2 separate regions of the Homo sapiens genome follow, and region 1 is linked to region 2. Evidence: promoter capture Hi-C in 16 types of primary human blood cells and fetal thymus (Javierre and others, 2016). All regions are on one chromosome and are shown on one strand. Each heading gives the region's core, a stretch centred on a gene start or on the middle of the fragment in contact. The rest is flanking DNA. Distances are from core to core; before and after follow the strand shown. Region 1 has its middle 52 kb from the start of C16orf82. Region 2 holds the start of ZKSCAN2 (zinc finger with KRAB and SCAN domains 2).

What was found. Contacts are between HindIII fragments. The CHiCAGO score rates a contact against its expected background, and 5 or more counts as called.
Region 1: a fragment that was not itself captured here is called in contact with the fragment with the promoter of ZKSCAN2 in region 2 in 1 of 17 cell types (endothelial precursors); the score reaches 6.4 in endothelial precursors.

The regions. Positions count from the first base shown.
Region 1 is chr16:27,115,765-27,121,286 of GRCh38, forward strand. No RefSeq gene overlaps it. Among named protein-coding and RNA genes, the nearest start is that of C16orf82, 52 kb to the left of the region's middle. The HindIII fragment of the contact is 827 bases long and covers 2,502-3,328 here.
Region 2 is chr16:25,255,249-25,261,508 of GRCh38, forward strand. It overlaps ZKSCAN2 (zinc finger with KRAB and SCAN domains 2), which reads right to left and starts at 2,597. Exons shown (of 7, transcript NM_001012981.5): 1 at 1,481-2,597; 2 at 1-144. The coding sequence starts at 1,879. It overlaps ZKSCAN2-DT (ZKSCAN2 divergent transcript), which reads left to right and starts at 2,329. Exons shown (of 1, transcript NR_170220.1): 1 at 2,329-5,818. RefSeq lists enhancers at 1,963-2,523, 2,939-3,258, 3,379-3,458 and silencers at 2,209-2,448, 2,529-2,728. The HindIII fragment of the contact is 3,031 bases long and covers 1,694-4,724 here.

The sequences.
Region 1 (5,522 bases), core at 1,665-4,164, 1.9 Mb after region 2:
GAGATGATGCCACTGCACTCCAGCCTAGGCGATAGAGTGAGACTCCGCCTCAAAAAAAACAAGAAAAAAAAAAAGGAAGAAAAGAAAAAGAAAAGGAAAGAAAAGCTCAGTAACTTCCCAGTGCATCTCATTGAACTTAGCATGGGCACCCACCTGATCTCAATGCACCCAGGAGTTGGCATTCGAGGGCAGCAAGGAGCATCCCTCAGACTTGGATGCAGTTATACACAGCGCCACAGCAGCACGCATGGCCTGACGTCAAAGACTGGCTGAGAATCTCAGAAAATCATGGATGTCCCCTCCCCAACACCCTGACCTCCGCCCCTGCCGAACTTAGGGGTAACCCCAAGGAATGTAAGGAAACCTAAATTGATTGGAAGAATGGACACAAATTAAACATGGTTATGAACTTTGTTAGTCCATTTTGCATTGCTGTAAAGGAATACCTGAGGCTGGGTAATTTATTAAAAGAAAGGAGGTTTATTTGGCTCAAGGTTCTGCAGGCTGTGCAAGCATGGTGCCAGCATCTGCTCAGTTTCTGGTGAGGCCTCAGGAAGCTTTTAATCATGGCAGAGAGGAAGAGGAGCCAACGTGTCACATGATGAGAGGGAGCAAGAGAGACATGGGAGGTCCTAGACTCTATTCTTCCTTTAATTTTTCAACTTTTGTGGGTACATAGTAGTGTATATATTTATGGGGTACATGAGAGATTTTGATACAGGCAGGCAATGCATAATAATCCTATCAAGGTAAACGGGGGATCCATCATTGGAAGCATTTATCCTTTGTGTTACAAACAAGCCAATTACACTCTTTTAGTTATTTATAAATGTGTAATTAAATTATTATTGACCATAGTCACACTGTTGTGCTATCAAATCTATCAAATACTAGGTCTAATTCTCCTTTTTTTTTTTTTTTTTTTTTTTTTTTGAGATGAAGTCTCGCTCTGTTGCCCAGGCTGGAATGCAGTGGCATGACCTCAGCTCACTACAACCTCCTCCTCCCAGGTTCAAGTGATTCTCCTGCATCAGCCTCCTGAGTAGCTGGAGCTACAGGCACCCACCACCACACCTGGCTAATTTTTGTATTTTTAGTGGAGATGGGGTTTCACTATGTTGGCAAGGCTGGTCTTGAATTCCTGACCTCAAGTGATCCACCCGCCTTGGCCTCCCAAAGTGCTGGGATTACAGCCATGAGCCACTGCACCTGGCCCTTATTCATTCTTTCTAACTATTTTTGTACTCATTAGCCTTCCCAACTCCTCCCCGCCACCAACCGGCACCCCCCACTACCCTTCGCAGCCTCTGGTCACCATCTTTCCCAGGCTCTAAATTTTTAACGGCCAGATCTCACATGAATAGAATGAGAACTCACTCATTACCACCAGGAGGGCACCAAGACATTCATGAGGGATCTGCCCCCATTTCCCACTAGGCACCACCTTTAACATTGGGAATCACATTTCAACATGAGATTTGGAGGAGACAAACATCCCAACCATAGTGTGAAGTGAATGAATAAAGAGAGTGATATTTCCCATGCACCTGAGATGTGGACTGACATTTCTACCACATGGTACGTTGCCAGAATCCTCCATTGGGTGTGTGTGTGTCTTGCGACTTGAATGAGCCTGAGAAGCCTTGAGACTTCTTCCTGGGCCTCGGAAGGGCTGTCCTTATCAGGGACAGCTATTCTGCAAGAACTCTGCATGGGGAAGAGTAGAAATGACTGGGGGTGTAAATGTTGTCTGATTAATCACAAGAGAAAGTGCCTCTTAGATGGAGCTGCCCAGTGATGGAAAGGACTACCATGAAAGGAAGCGAGTTTCCTATTCCTGCAGGTATGCAAGTGACACTGTCAGAGGTGTGGAGAAGTAACTCCTACCTGTGGAGTTTGCCTGACTAAAATAACACTGAGGCCCCTCTGAAGCTTTATAGGCTCTGAGTCTTCCAGCAGAGCCCAGAGTGATGTTGGGTAATCAGAGACGGAATTAGCTGAATGCATGGGGAGGGGAGGAGGAAGAGAGAAGGAAGAAGAATAGGAAACAGTAAGGGAGGAGAGTAGGAGAAAGGAAATAAGGGTCCCAACTGAGAAGGCCCAACATTAGTCAAAAGTTTTTCAAAGAAAGGCCGGGCGTGGTGGTTCACGCCTGTAATCTCAGCACTTTGGGAAGCTGAGGCGGGCAAATCACTTGAGGTCAGGAGTTCGAGACCAGCATGGTCAACATGGCAAAACTCCATTTCTACCAAAAATACAAAAGTTAGGCGGGCATGGTGGCGTGCACCTGTAATCCCAGCTACTTGAGAGGCTGAGGCAGGAGAATTGCTTGAACCCAGAGGGCAGAGGTTGCAGTGAGCTGAGATAGCACCACTGCACTCCAGCCTGGGCAAGAGAATGAGACTCCATTTCAAAAAAAAAAAAAAAAAAAAAAGTTTTTCAAAGATAATATTTCCCAAGTGGGGGCCACATGTTCACAACAGTCAGAATAGCTTAAACCAAGCTTGTCCAGCCTGCAGCCTGCAGGCCACATGCAGCCCAGAATGGCTTTGAATGTGGCCCAACACAAATTCAAAAACTTTCATAAAACATTATGAGATTTATGCATGGCGCTTTTTTTTTTTTTTTAGCTTATCAGCCATCATTAGTGTTAGTGTATTTTATGTGTGGCCCAAGACAGTTCTTCCAATGTGGCCCAGGGAAGCCAAAAGATTGGGTGCCCCTGGACTATGCTGCAGTAACAAATTAACCTGAAATCTCAGTGCTTTGGCACAGTAAATGTATTTCTCACTCATGTAGAGTCCAGGTGTCCCTATGGCTGTGATATCTGGAATGCAAGGAGGAGGATGGAATGCAAAAGGGAGCTGGAAAAAGCCCACTAGCATTACACTGCCACAGCCCAGCAGTGAAACGGCACTTCACTGCCACAGCCCAATAGTAGCACTCACCAGCCAGTGCCCAGAAGAAGTCACATGATCCCAACCATCTGCAAAGGAAGTTGAGAAACTTAGAGAAGACGGTGGATATTTTGAGAGCAATAATTTTCTCTACCACAGACACAGACCCATAATGGAACACAATTTTAGATGGTAAATACGATAATTTTTGGTGAAAATAAATAAAGCGTTAAAAAACATTGAGCTGCGTAATGAGAAAATTCTTCCCAGATCAATTATCTCAAAAGCCTCATAATTATGAGAAAGTCTCAGCTTGGTGATAATATGTCTTTAACACCTCCCTAAAAGTCTAACACTGCTAGTCTTTATCAATATATAAAGCACTGACCTCAGATTTAGAGCCTTCAAGAGAAAAGAGAATATTCTACTTAAGCTTACAAAACACTGGTGTGTTCCCATCATATTCATTTTCATGATTACCTCCTATTTACGGAAAATGATGCCAATTTTCCATGTAGGGTGACAAAGTAAAGTTTCCTTTTAAATAAATTTATTTTTTAAAATTGACTCTCTTTAAAGAAGACTATTAAGTTAGTAGTAGTATAGGTGGTACCCGAATATGGCAAAAAAGCATTAATGATGCAGTGTGAGTTATTGAAGTTTGTAAAATTCTGTTCCACCTCCAATTCAGCAGTGCATATATTGGATTTTTTATGTGTTTGTTTAGTATTTAATTGACAAAAAGATTTTATATTTTAAGGTGTATGACTGATGATTTGATATACATTGTTTAATGATGACCACAATCAAATTCATTAACATATCCATCATCACCCATGTCATACACCAGATCCCCAGAATTTGTTCATGTTATAACTGAATGTTTGTGCCCTGTGACCACCATTTCCCCATGTACCCAGTAACTACTGTTCTACTCTCTACTTCTATGAATTCAACTTTTTAATATTCTACATATAAATAAGACCATACATTATTTGTCTTTCTGGGTCTAGATTATTTCACTTCCCATAATTTCCTCTAAGTTCATCCATGTTGTTGCAAAAGACAGGATTTCATTCCTTTTTATGGCTGAATAATATTCTCCATTCATCCATCCATGGATATTTAGGTTGTTTCCATATCTTGGCTACCGTGAATACAGCTGCAATGAACATGAGGTGCAGATACCTCTTCGACATAGCAATTTCACAGCCTTTAGCTATATACCCAGAAGTTAGATGGCTGGATCATGTGGTACTTGTATTTGTGGCTTTTTGAGGAACCCCCATACTGTTTGCCCTAATGGCTATACTAATTTCCATTTCCACCAACAGTGTATAAGCATTTCTTTTTCTCTACACCCTCACCAGCACTTGCCAACTCTTATCTTTTTGATAATAGTCATCCTAACAGGTGCGAGATATCTCACTGTAGTTTTGTTTGCATTTATCTGATGATTAGTGATATTGAGCACTTTTTCATATACCTGTTGGCCATTTGTATGTCTTCCTTAGAAAAATGTTTATTCAGATCCTTTGCCAATTTTTTTTTTCCAATCTATACTCTTACTTTACTTTTTTTCCTTTTACTTTTATTTTGAGTTCTGGGGTACATGTGCAGAATGTGCAGGTTTGTTACATAGGTGTACCATGGTGGTTTGCTGCACAGATCAACCCATCACTTTGGTATTAAGCCCAGCATCCATTAGCTATTCTTCCTGATGCTCTGCCAATTTTTAAATAGCATTATTTGGGTTTGGGAGTTTTTTGTGTTGTTTTGTTTTGGGGGGTTATTTGGTTGATTGGTTTTGCTATTAAGTTATGTGAGTTCTTTCTATATTTTTGTTATTAGCCCCTTATGAGATGTACAGTTCACAAATATTTTATCCCATTCCATAGTTTGCCTTTGCATTTCACTTATTGTTTTCTTTGGTGTGCAGAAGCTTTTTAGCTTGATGTAGTCCCACTTGTTTGTTTTTCCTTTTGTTGTCTGTGCTTTTGATGTTATATCAAAAAATTCATTGCCAAGATCAATGACAAGGAGCTTTTCCCCTATGTTTTCTTCCATGAGTTTTATGGTTTCAGATCTTACATTTAAGATTTAAATACATTTTGAATTAACTTTTGTATATGGTGTAAACCAAGTGTCCAATTTTATTCTTTTGCATGTGCCTATCCAGTTTTCTTACCTTTACTCATCAGGGATATTGACCTGTGATTTTCTTTTCTTGTAGCATTCTTATCCTAGCTTGTCTCCTTTCAGGAATTGACAAGCTTATCCCAAAATTCTTATAGAAATCCAAGAATTCCATCTTGAATCTTAAAAAAAGTAAAAGTTCAAGAATTCACACTTCTCAGTTTCAAAACTTACTACAAAACTACAGTAATCAAGACAGTGCAGTATTGGCATATGTATCAGTGGAAAAAATTAGATTCCAGAAATAAATCCGTATAACTATGGTTGATTAATTTGGGGCAAGGGCCTATTCAATGGGAAAGGGATAGTTTTTTCAATAAAAGGTGCTGGGACAACTGGATATCTACATGTAAAAGAATGAATAATGTTGAATCCCTACCTCACACCATATACAAAAATTACTCAGAATGAATCAAAGGTTTAAATTTT
Region 2 (6,260 bases), core at 1,347-3,846:
TTCCTGGTGTCCTGAGTGGAGGCTTCCAGGTTCCTCCCGAGACACCGCCCTGGGTTGGGTCTCCACCTGCTCTGGCTGGAAGTCTGCCACCTCCCACGCTGCTCCAAGTGGGGAGTGCTTCTCCCGGTGCACGGGACTGCTGACCTGAGAAATGAAGTCAATACCATAAGAGGGAGTAAAACAGGCCCATATCAGGGCGAAATTCTCCCAGGAAAGACATCAAAGAAGGACAGAGACATGAGAAGGAATGAAAATTCCACTCCATTCCCAGTGGAGTCTCTGAGAGCGCTGGGCTGAGAGTACTGTCCAGCAGTCTGGGTGTAAGGTAACAGAACAGTGTTCTTTTTTCTGAGACAGAGTTTCACTTTTGTTGCCCAGGCTGGAGTGCAATGGCACGATCTTGGCTCACTGCAACCTCCACCTCCCAGGTTCAAGCGATTCTCCTCTCTCAGCCTCCCAAGTAGCTGGGATTACAGGCATGCACCAACACAACCGGCTAATTTTATATTTTTTTAGTAGAGATGGGGTTTCATTATGTTGGTCAGGCTGGTCTCGAATTCCTGACCTCAGGTGATCAACATGCCTCGGCCTCCCAAAGTGCTGGGATTACAGATGTGAGCCACCGCGCCTGGCCAGAATAATATTTAATACTAAACAGAGAAGGAAATCTGTCAGGAGTGAAAGAGCCTCCTTGTTGCTAGAATAGATATTATTTGACTCTATATCTGTTACGTTCGCAAAGAAGTTACCAGGACATGAATATATACAGTAGTGAAATGAAAACTTACAAAATTAATATCCACATCTATCTGTCTATCCCTGACCAATACAGCAACCTGCTGATAGATCTCTACACAATGCAAGTCTGATGCAAGGTGAAACCGCAAATCTTGCAAATGCTGCAGGATTTCACGAGGTTCATGAAAGTGAGGTTGAAGAACAACTAGAAGAGCATGCAAGCCACTGAGAAATGAAGATGTGGCAGTTAGACTGGAGGAGAGTGACAGAAATGAAGGCATGAGAGCACTTCAGAAGACACTGAGTGCAACAGTAAAACGCTTGGAGACGGCTCTGGGATAACGGATGAAGTCTTTTTTTTTTTTTTTTAAAGGGGGAACAGAATAGCCTTTTTTGATCAAAATGCGTAAGTGAACCTCTGTGACGCAAAACCATATTGTTCTCTTATATTGTTTTGTTGCAAACATTATGCCAAAGATGACGATAAATGCTTAGGTGAATAATGTCTGGTTTCCATTGTAAGATAATATTTCAATCAAAGCTTTTATTTTTCTATTTCATGTGAAATTCTGATCCCCTTTTAAGTGGATTCACTTAAAGTGAAAAGACCCCCTTATAGGGTCTTTTATTAGTACCATTTATCTTTCTCTGAAGAGCACGTCTTTCTGCAATACATCCCTGCCCACATGCCTTTCCCATTCCCTTTTTTCTAAGTACAAAAATTTGGAAAATCCTCTCTCACCTGCTGTCTTAGTCTTCCAGTCTCTTTCTCCAAATGCACTACCAGGGCCACCGCTTCCTCTCCACTTTGCGGACACTGCTTCTGTGCCCAAGCCTGAATCTTCTCGGGTAAAATGGTGAGAAACTGCTCAATCACCAGCAGCTCAAGTATTTGCTCCTTGGAACGCATTTCTGGCTTCAGCCACCGGCAGCAAAGTTCCCAGAGTTTACTGAAAGCTTCATGGGGTCCAGTCACATCCTCATAACAGAATTGCCTGAAGCATTTGCGGAAGGTCTCAGAGCTATCCGATCCTTCCAGAATGGGCTCTGATGCCCACTCAGGGTCCTTTTCCACCTTCATTATTAGGCATCCCTCAACCTCCAGGGGCGCGTCGATCTGAGAGTCGAGGGCGACAGCCATGCTGCAGCCCAGGGGTCAACTTCACGTCTAGCTCAAGGTGGGGACCCAAAGAAGACTCCAAGCGCTCCCTGCTTAATGTTCCTGGGAGTGTGATAAGGTACGGAGGTAAAAACGGCCAGGTCGGCAGGAACAGGGTATTCCAGGCTGATTAATCAAATCTATGCCAGGCCCTTGAAAAGGTGAACGTATACTCTAAGATGCAAAAGCCTGGCCTCTTCTCCAAACAAGATGTGACCGCGCAATGTGGTTTTCCAGAGTGCATCCCTCTTAGTGCAAAGTCGGAAACCGGGAGGCTGGACGACTGGGAGAAAAATGAAGCAGGCTGAGGAAAGGCTGGGCGGAGGCGGACAGCCGGGCCGGGAGGGGGTGTGTCCGCTACTCCCGGGTCGGGCGCGGAGAGGCGAGTCCCCGAGTGGGTGGGGCCGGATGTGCAGGCCCCGCCCGGCGCCAGGTTCCGGGCTCGGGTCACCGCAGCACGTCCAGGCCGCCGCGGGTGCCGCTGGGGCCGCCGGATTCCGAGAGCGGCGCCGGGCTCTTTCGGGCCCACGACGGCCCCGACCGTCCTGAGGAAACCGCTGCCGCCGAGGAAAGGCCGCAAAAACTGTTCCGCCCGGAAGGGAGAAGAGCTGCGGGGCGAAGCCAGGGCTCGCAGGGGGCAGCGGCAGGCTGCTCGCGTTCGGCCTCGTCCACTCGGCCCGCGGAGAGCGCGGGGGGCGCTGGGAACCGCAGTCACGCATGCGCCGCCTGCCACCGAGCGCCGCGGGGCCCGCGCGAGGCGTCCTGGCGGGCGAGGGGCTGGGGGAGGGGGGGGGGGCCGTGCGGTGGACTCTCGCGAGAGCGCGCGGCGCGGTGACTCGTCGCTGAGGGACTTTAAGATTGTAGAGGGGCGCGGAGGGTCCTCCCCGGGGCGGAGGGACACAGAGGGATTCTAGGGAACCTGCCGTCGCGAGTCCCGCTTCAGGCGGAGAATCTAGGCGGCGGCGGGGCCTCCCTGAGGCGGAGGAGTCGGCACCGGGGCCTGGCTGCCGGGGAAGGAGAGCACGGGAGCGGGGACTCCTGTGTCTGGCGGAGGGACACGGCGTTCCGGTGGAGGGATCTGTTCCTTGTACCTGGTCCAGGGTTGCGGTCGGGGATGGAGCGGTTACCCCGACCCTGCGGGACCTTCTTCCTCTGGCGGAGGTGCACGGCGCGGCGTGGTGTTTTTCTGGCGGAAGTATCTGTGCGTGGCCCCAGGCCCTTCCCGGCGCGGTCTCATCTGGGGCCACTTGTTGGCCCTCGCGTTGGGGAGGTTCATGTGGTGCATCCTGATGAGAAGGGGGGTCACAGGGGTCTCGGGGCCAGGGTTCAGCCAGCCAGGCCCCAGCTTGCTCTCTTCTGGTGCTGCCCCTGTCCCTGAATTCATAGACCCGGCTTTCCCTCTCTTGAGCACCTACTATGTGCCAGGCTGCGCTTTGCGCATGTAGCAGAGGCAACAGTGTCACCTGGGAAGCTGGTTTCCCCCAAAGGAACTCTTGTCTGTCCGTTGTTGCAGAGCCAGCGCATGAGACCAAGTGTGAGTATCAGGCAGTGCAGCCTTCATTCAGTGGCCATGGAATTGGAGAAGTGGGAGGGTAGCTCGCAAATCAAGCTCTCAGCTCTTGGAAACTGAGAAGTTACAGGTAATAGGGAGTGTTGACGAAAAGTAAAACCGTGCAAAATATTTGAAGAGATTTATTGTGAGCCAAATACGAGTAACCACAGCCTGTGATACAGCCCTCTCGAGGCCCTGAGAACATGTGCCCAAGGTGGTCGGGGTGCAGCTTGGTTTTATGTTTTAGGTTGGCATGAGACATCAGTCAAATACATTAAATACATTGGTTTGGTCCAGGAAGGCGGGACAACGCAAAGGGGTGGGGGTGGGGGCTTCCAGGCTATAGGTAAATTTAAATATTTTCTAGTTGACAATTGGTTGAGTTTGTCTGAAGACCTGGGATTGATAGAAAGGAAGTGTTCAGGTTAAGATAAAAGATAGTGGAGACTAAGGTTCTTTTGAAGTCTTATGGTGGCTGCTCTTAGAGATAATAGATGACAAATGTTTCCTATTCAGATCTTCAAAAGGTGTTAGACTTTTAGTTAATCCGTTTAGGATTGGGAGGGCCTGGAAGAAAAACATCTAGCTATGTTAATAGATGTTCTTTACAGATGCACATTTTACCCCACAAAGGATAGCTTTTGGGGGAAAATGCTGTCCTTTATGGAAGAAATTGCAAAATAGGGCAAGGAAACATGTTTTGGGGTAAAATATTTTGACTTTCTTTTTGTCACGTAATGTTATGCCAGAGTCAGAATGGAAAGTAAGTCATCATATATAGGATTAAATAAAACCCATCTGATGAGAATTTATGGTTTGTAGGTCATGACTCCCCAGATCCCTTAGATAGGAATTTGGGCAGGATTAAAAAAATCAAGAGTTTAGGCTGGTCGTGGTGGCTCACGCCTATAATCCCAGCATTTTGGGAGGCCAAGGCAGGTGGATCGCTTGAGGTCAGAAGTTTAAGACCAGCCTGGCCAACATGGCGAAACCCCGTCTCTACTAAAAATACAAAAATTAGCTGGGCATGGTGGCACACGCCTGTGATTCTAGCTGATTGGGAGGCTGAGGCATGAGACTCAACTTGAACCCGGGAGGCGGAGGTTGCAATGAGCTGAGATTGTGCCACTGCACTCCAGCTTGGTTGACAAAGTGAGACTCTGTGTCAAAAACAAAACAAAACAGAAAAAAAAAACAAAAGAATCAGAGCTTAGTCGTCAGGTGTCCTTAATGAAGGGGCTGGGCATTAAGAGCAAGGCGAGGAGGCAGAAGGAAAGCTTGAGCCCAGGAATTGGAGACCAGCTTGGGCAACATGGTAAGACCCTGTCTCTAAAAAAAATAAAAATTAAGAACAAGAGGAGGAATATTCATGTTTTTTCTTGGGAAGGGAGGTAGATTTTCCTGGAATCAAGGAGCTGCCCCTTTTTTTGTCCTTTTTTTGGTCTCTTCGGGTCATCACGGTGATTGTCAACTGTCATGGCAACCAGTGGGAATGTCATTTAGTACTGAAGTTGGATTAGAATGAAGCTAGAGGTTCTTCAGAGGTCGAGTAAGCTAAGAAGGAACCTATGACCACAGACAACCTGTTTTCTAAAAATAAGCAGAGTTAAATCTGAGTAGGAATTTAGCTATGTCATGGAGGCATTGCATTGGGTAACAAAAGCCAGGTAGGCGTCCAGCTAAGTCCCCTAGGCCCTGCAACGGGTAACAGCAGTACTGACTCTATGTTAGAGAAAAGCTTGCTTGCTTGAGTATAATTATTGTTTTGCCTGAGTTTGTAAACTATTCACTAAAAACAGCCACAGAAAAAAACAGGACCTTCTTCAACAGATAAAACACACAGACCCGCAGCTTTGGGAACAGGCTGATGGCCCCTGCACAGTCTAGTCACAAGGCATTGACCAAGAAAGTAATGACTAACTGCCCATCTGAGACTGCGCATGATTCACAAGAATGTTTCTTTGTTTTGTTTTTTGAGACAGTCTTGGTCTGTCTCCCAGGCTGGAGTGCAGTGATGTTGGTTCGCTGTAGCCTCTGCCTCCTGAGTAGCTGGGACTACAGGCGTGTGCCACCGCACCTGGCTAATTTTTGTATTTTTAGTAGAGATGATGTTTGACTATGTTGGCCAGGATGGTCTCGAACTCCTGACCTCAAGTGATCCACCTGCCTCGGCCTCCCAAATTGCTGGGGTTACAAGTATGAGCCACCGCTCCTGGCCCACAAGAATGTTTTGATCATTATTTCTCCTAATTTTCCTTAAAATCCCTGGATCTAGAGGCACAACTGAGAAAGGTGGTCTTTGAATGCTAGTGCACTGCCTTTTGCAGGTTGCTGGTTTCTCGAATAAAGCTAACTTTGCTTTCACCAAAGCTTGTCTTTTGAGTTTTTGGCTTTCAGGCGACGAGTGGCCTGGACACCAGTTCGGCTACATGTATGTCAGTGGGCAAAACAAAAATCCTTATTCTGGGAGGTAGATAGCTTATTAGAAAACACAACCTAATCACTTGTTTCCCAAATGTTAAAAATTGAGCCAATTTTAGCCCCAGAAGCTTAGGGTACCATGTACATAACAGGCATTACCTGAGGGTGGGGCAGAGAGAATCAGTGGGGTACCTCGTATATGCCAGGGGTTGTATCAGCATCCTTACACAGCTCATTTTTCTTTTTAAATAATACTTATTGAGGACCTATTTAATGCCAGATATGGTGGTAGGTAGGGAGCAAAAGCAGGATTCCCCTCCCATTATTGAGTTTTCAGTCTGGTGGGAGAGGCAGGAATTAAATAAGTAATCCACAAACTCAAGTACAATT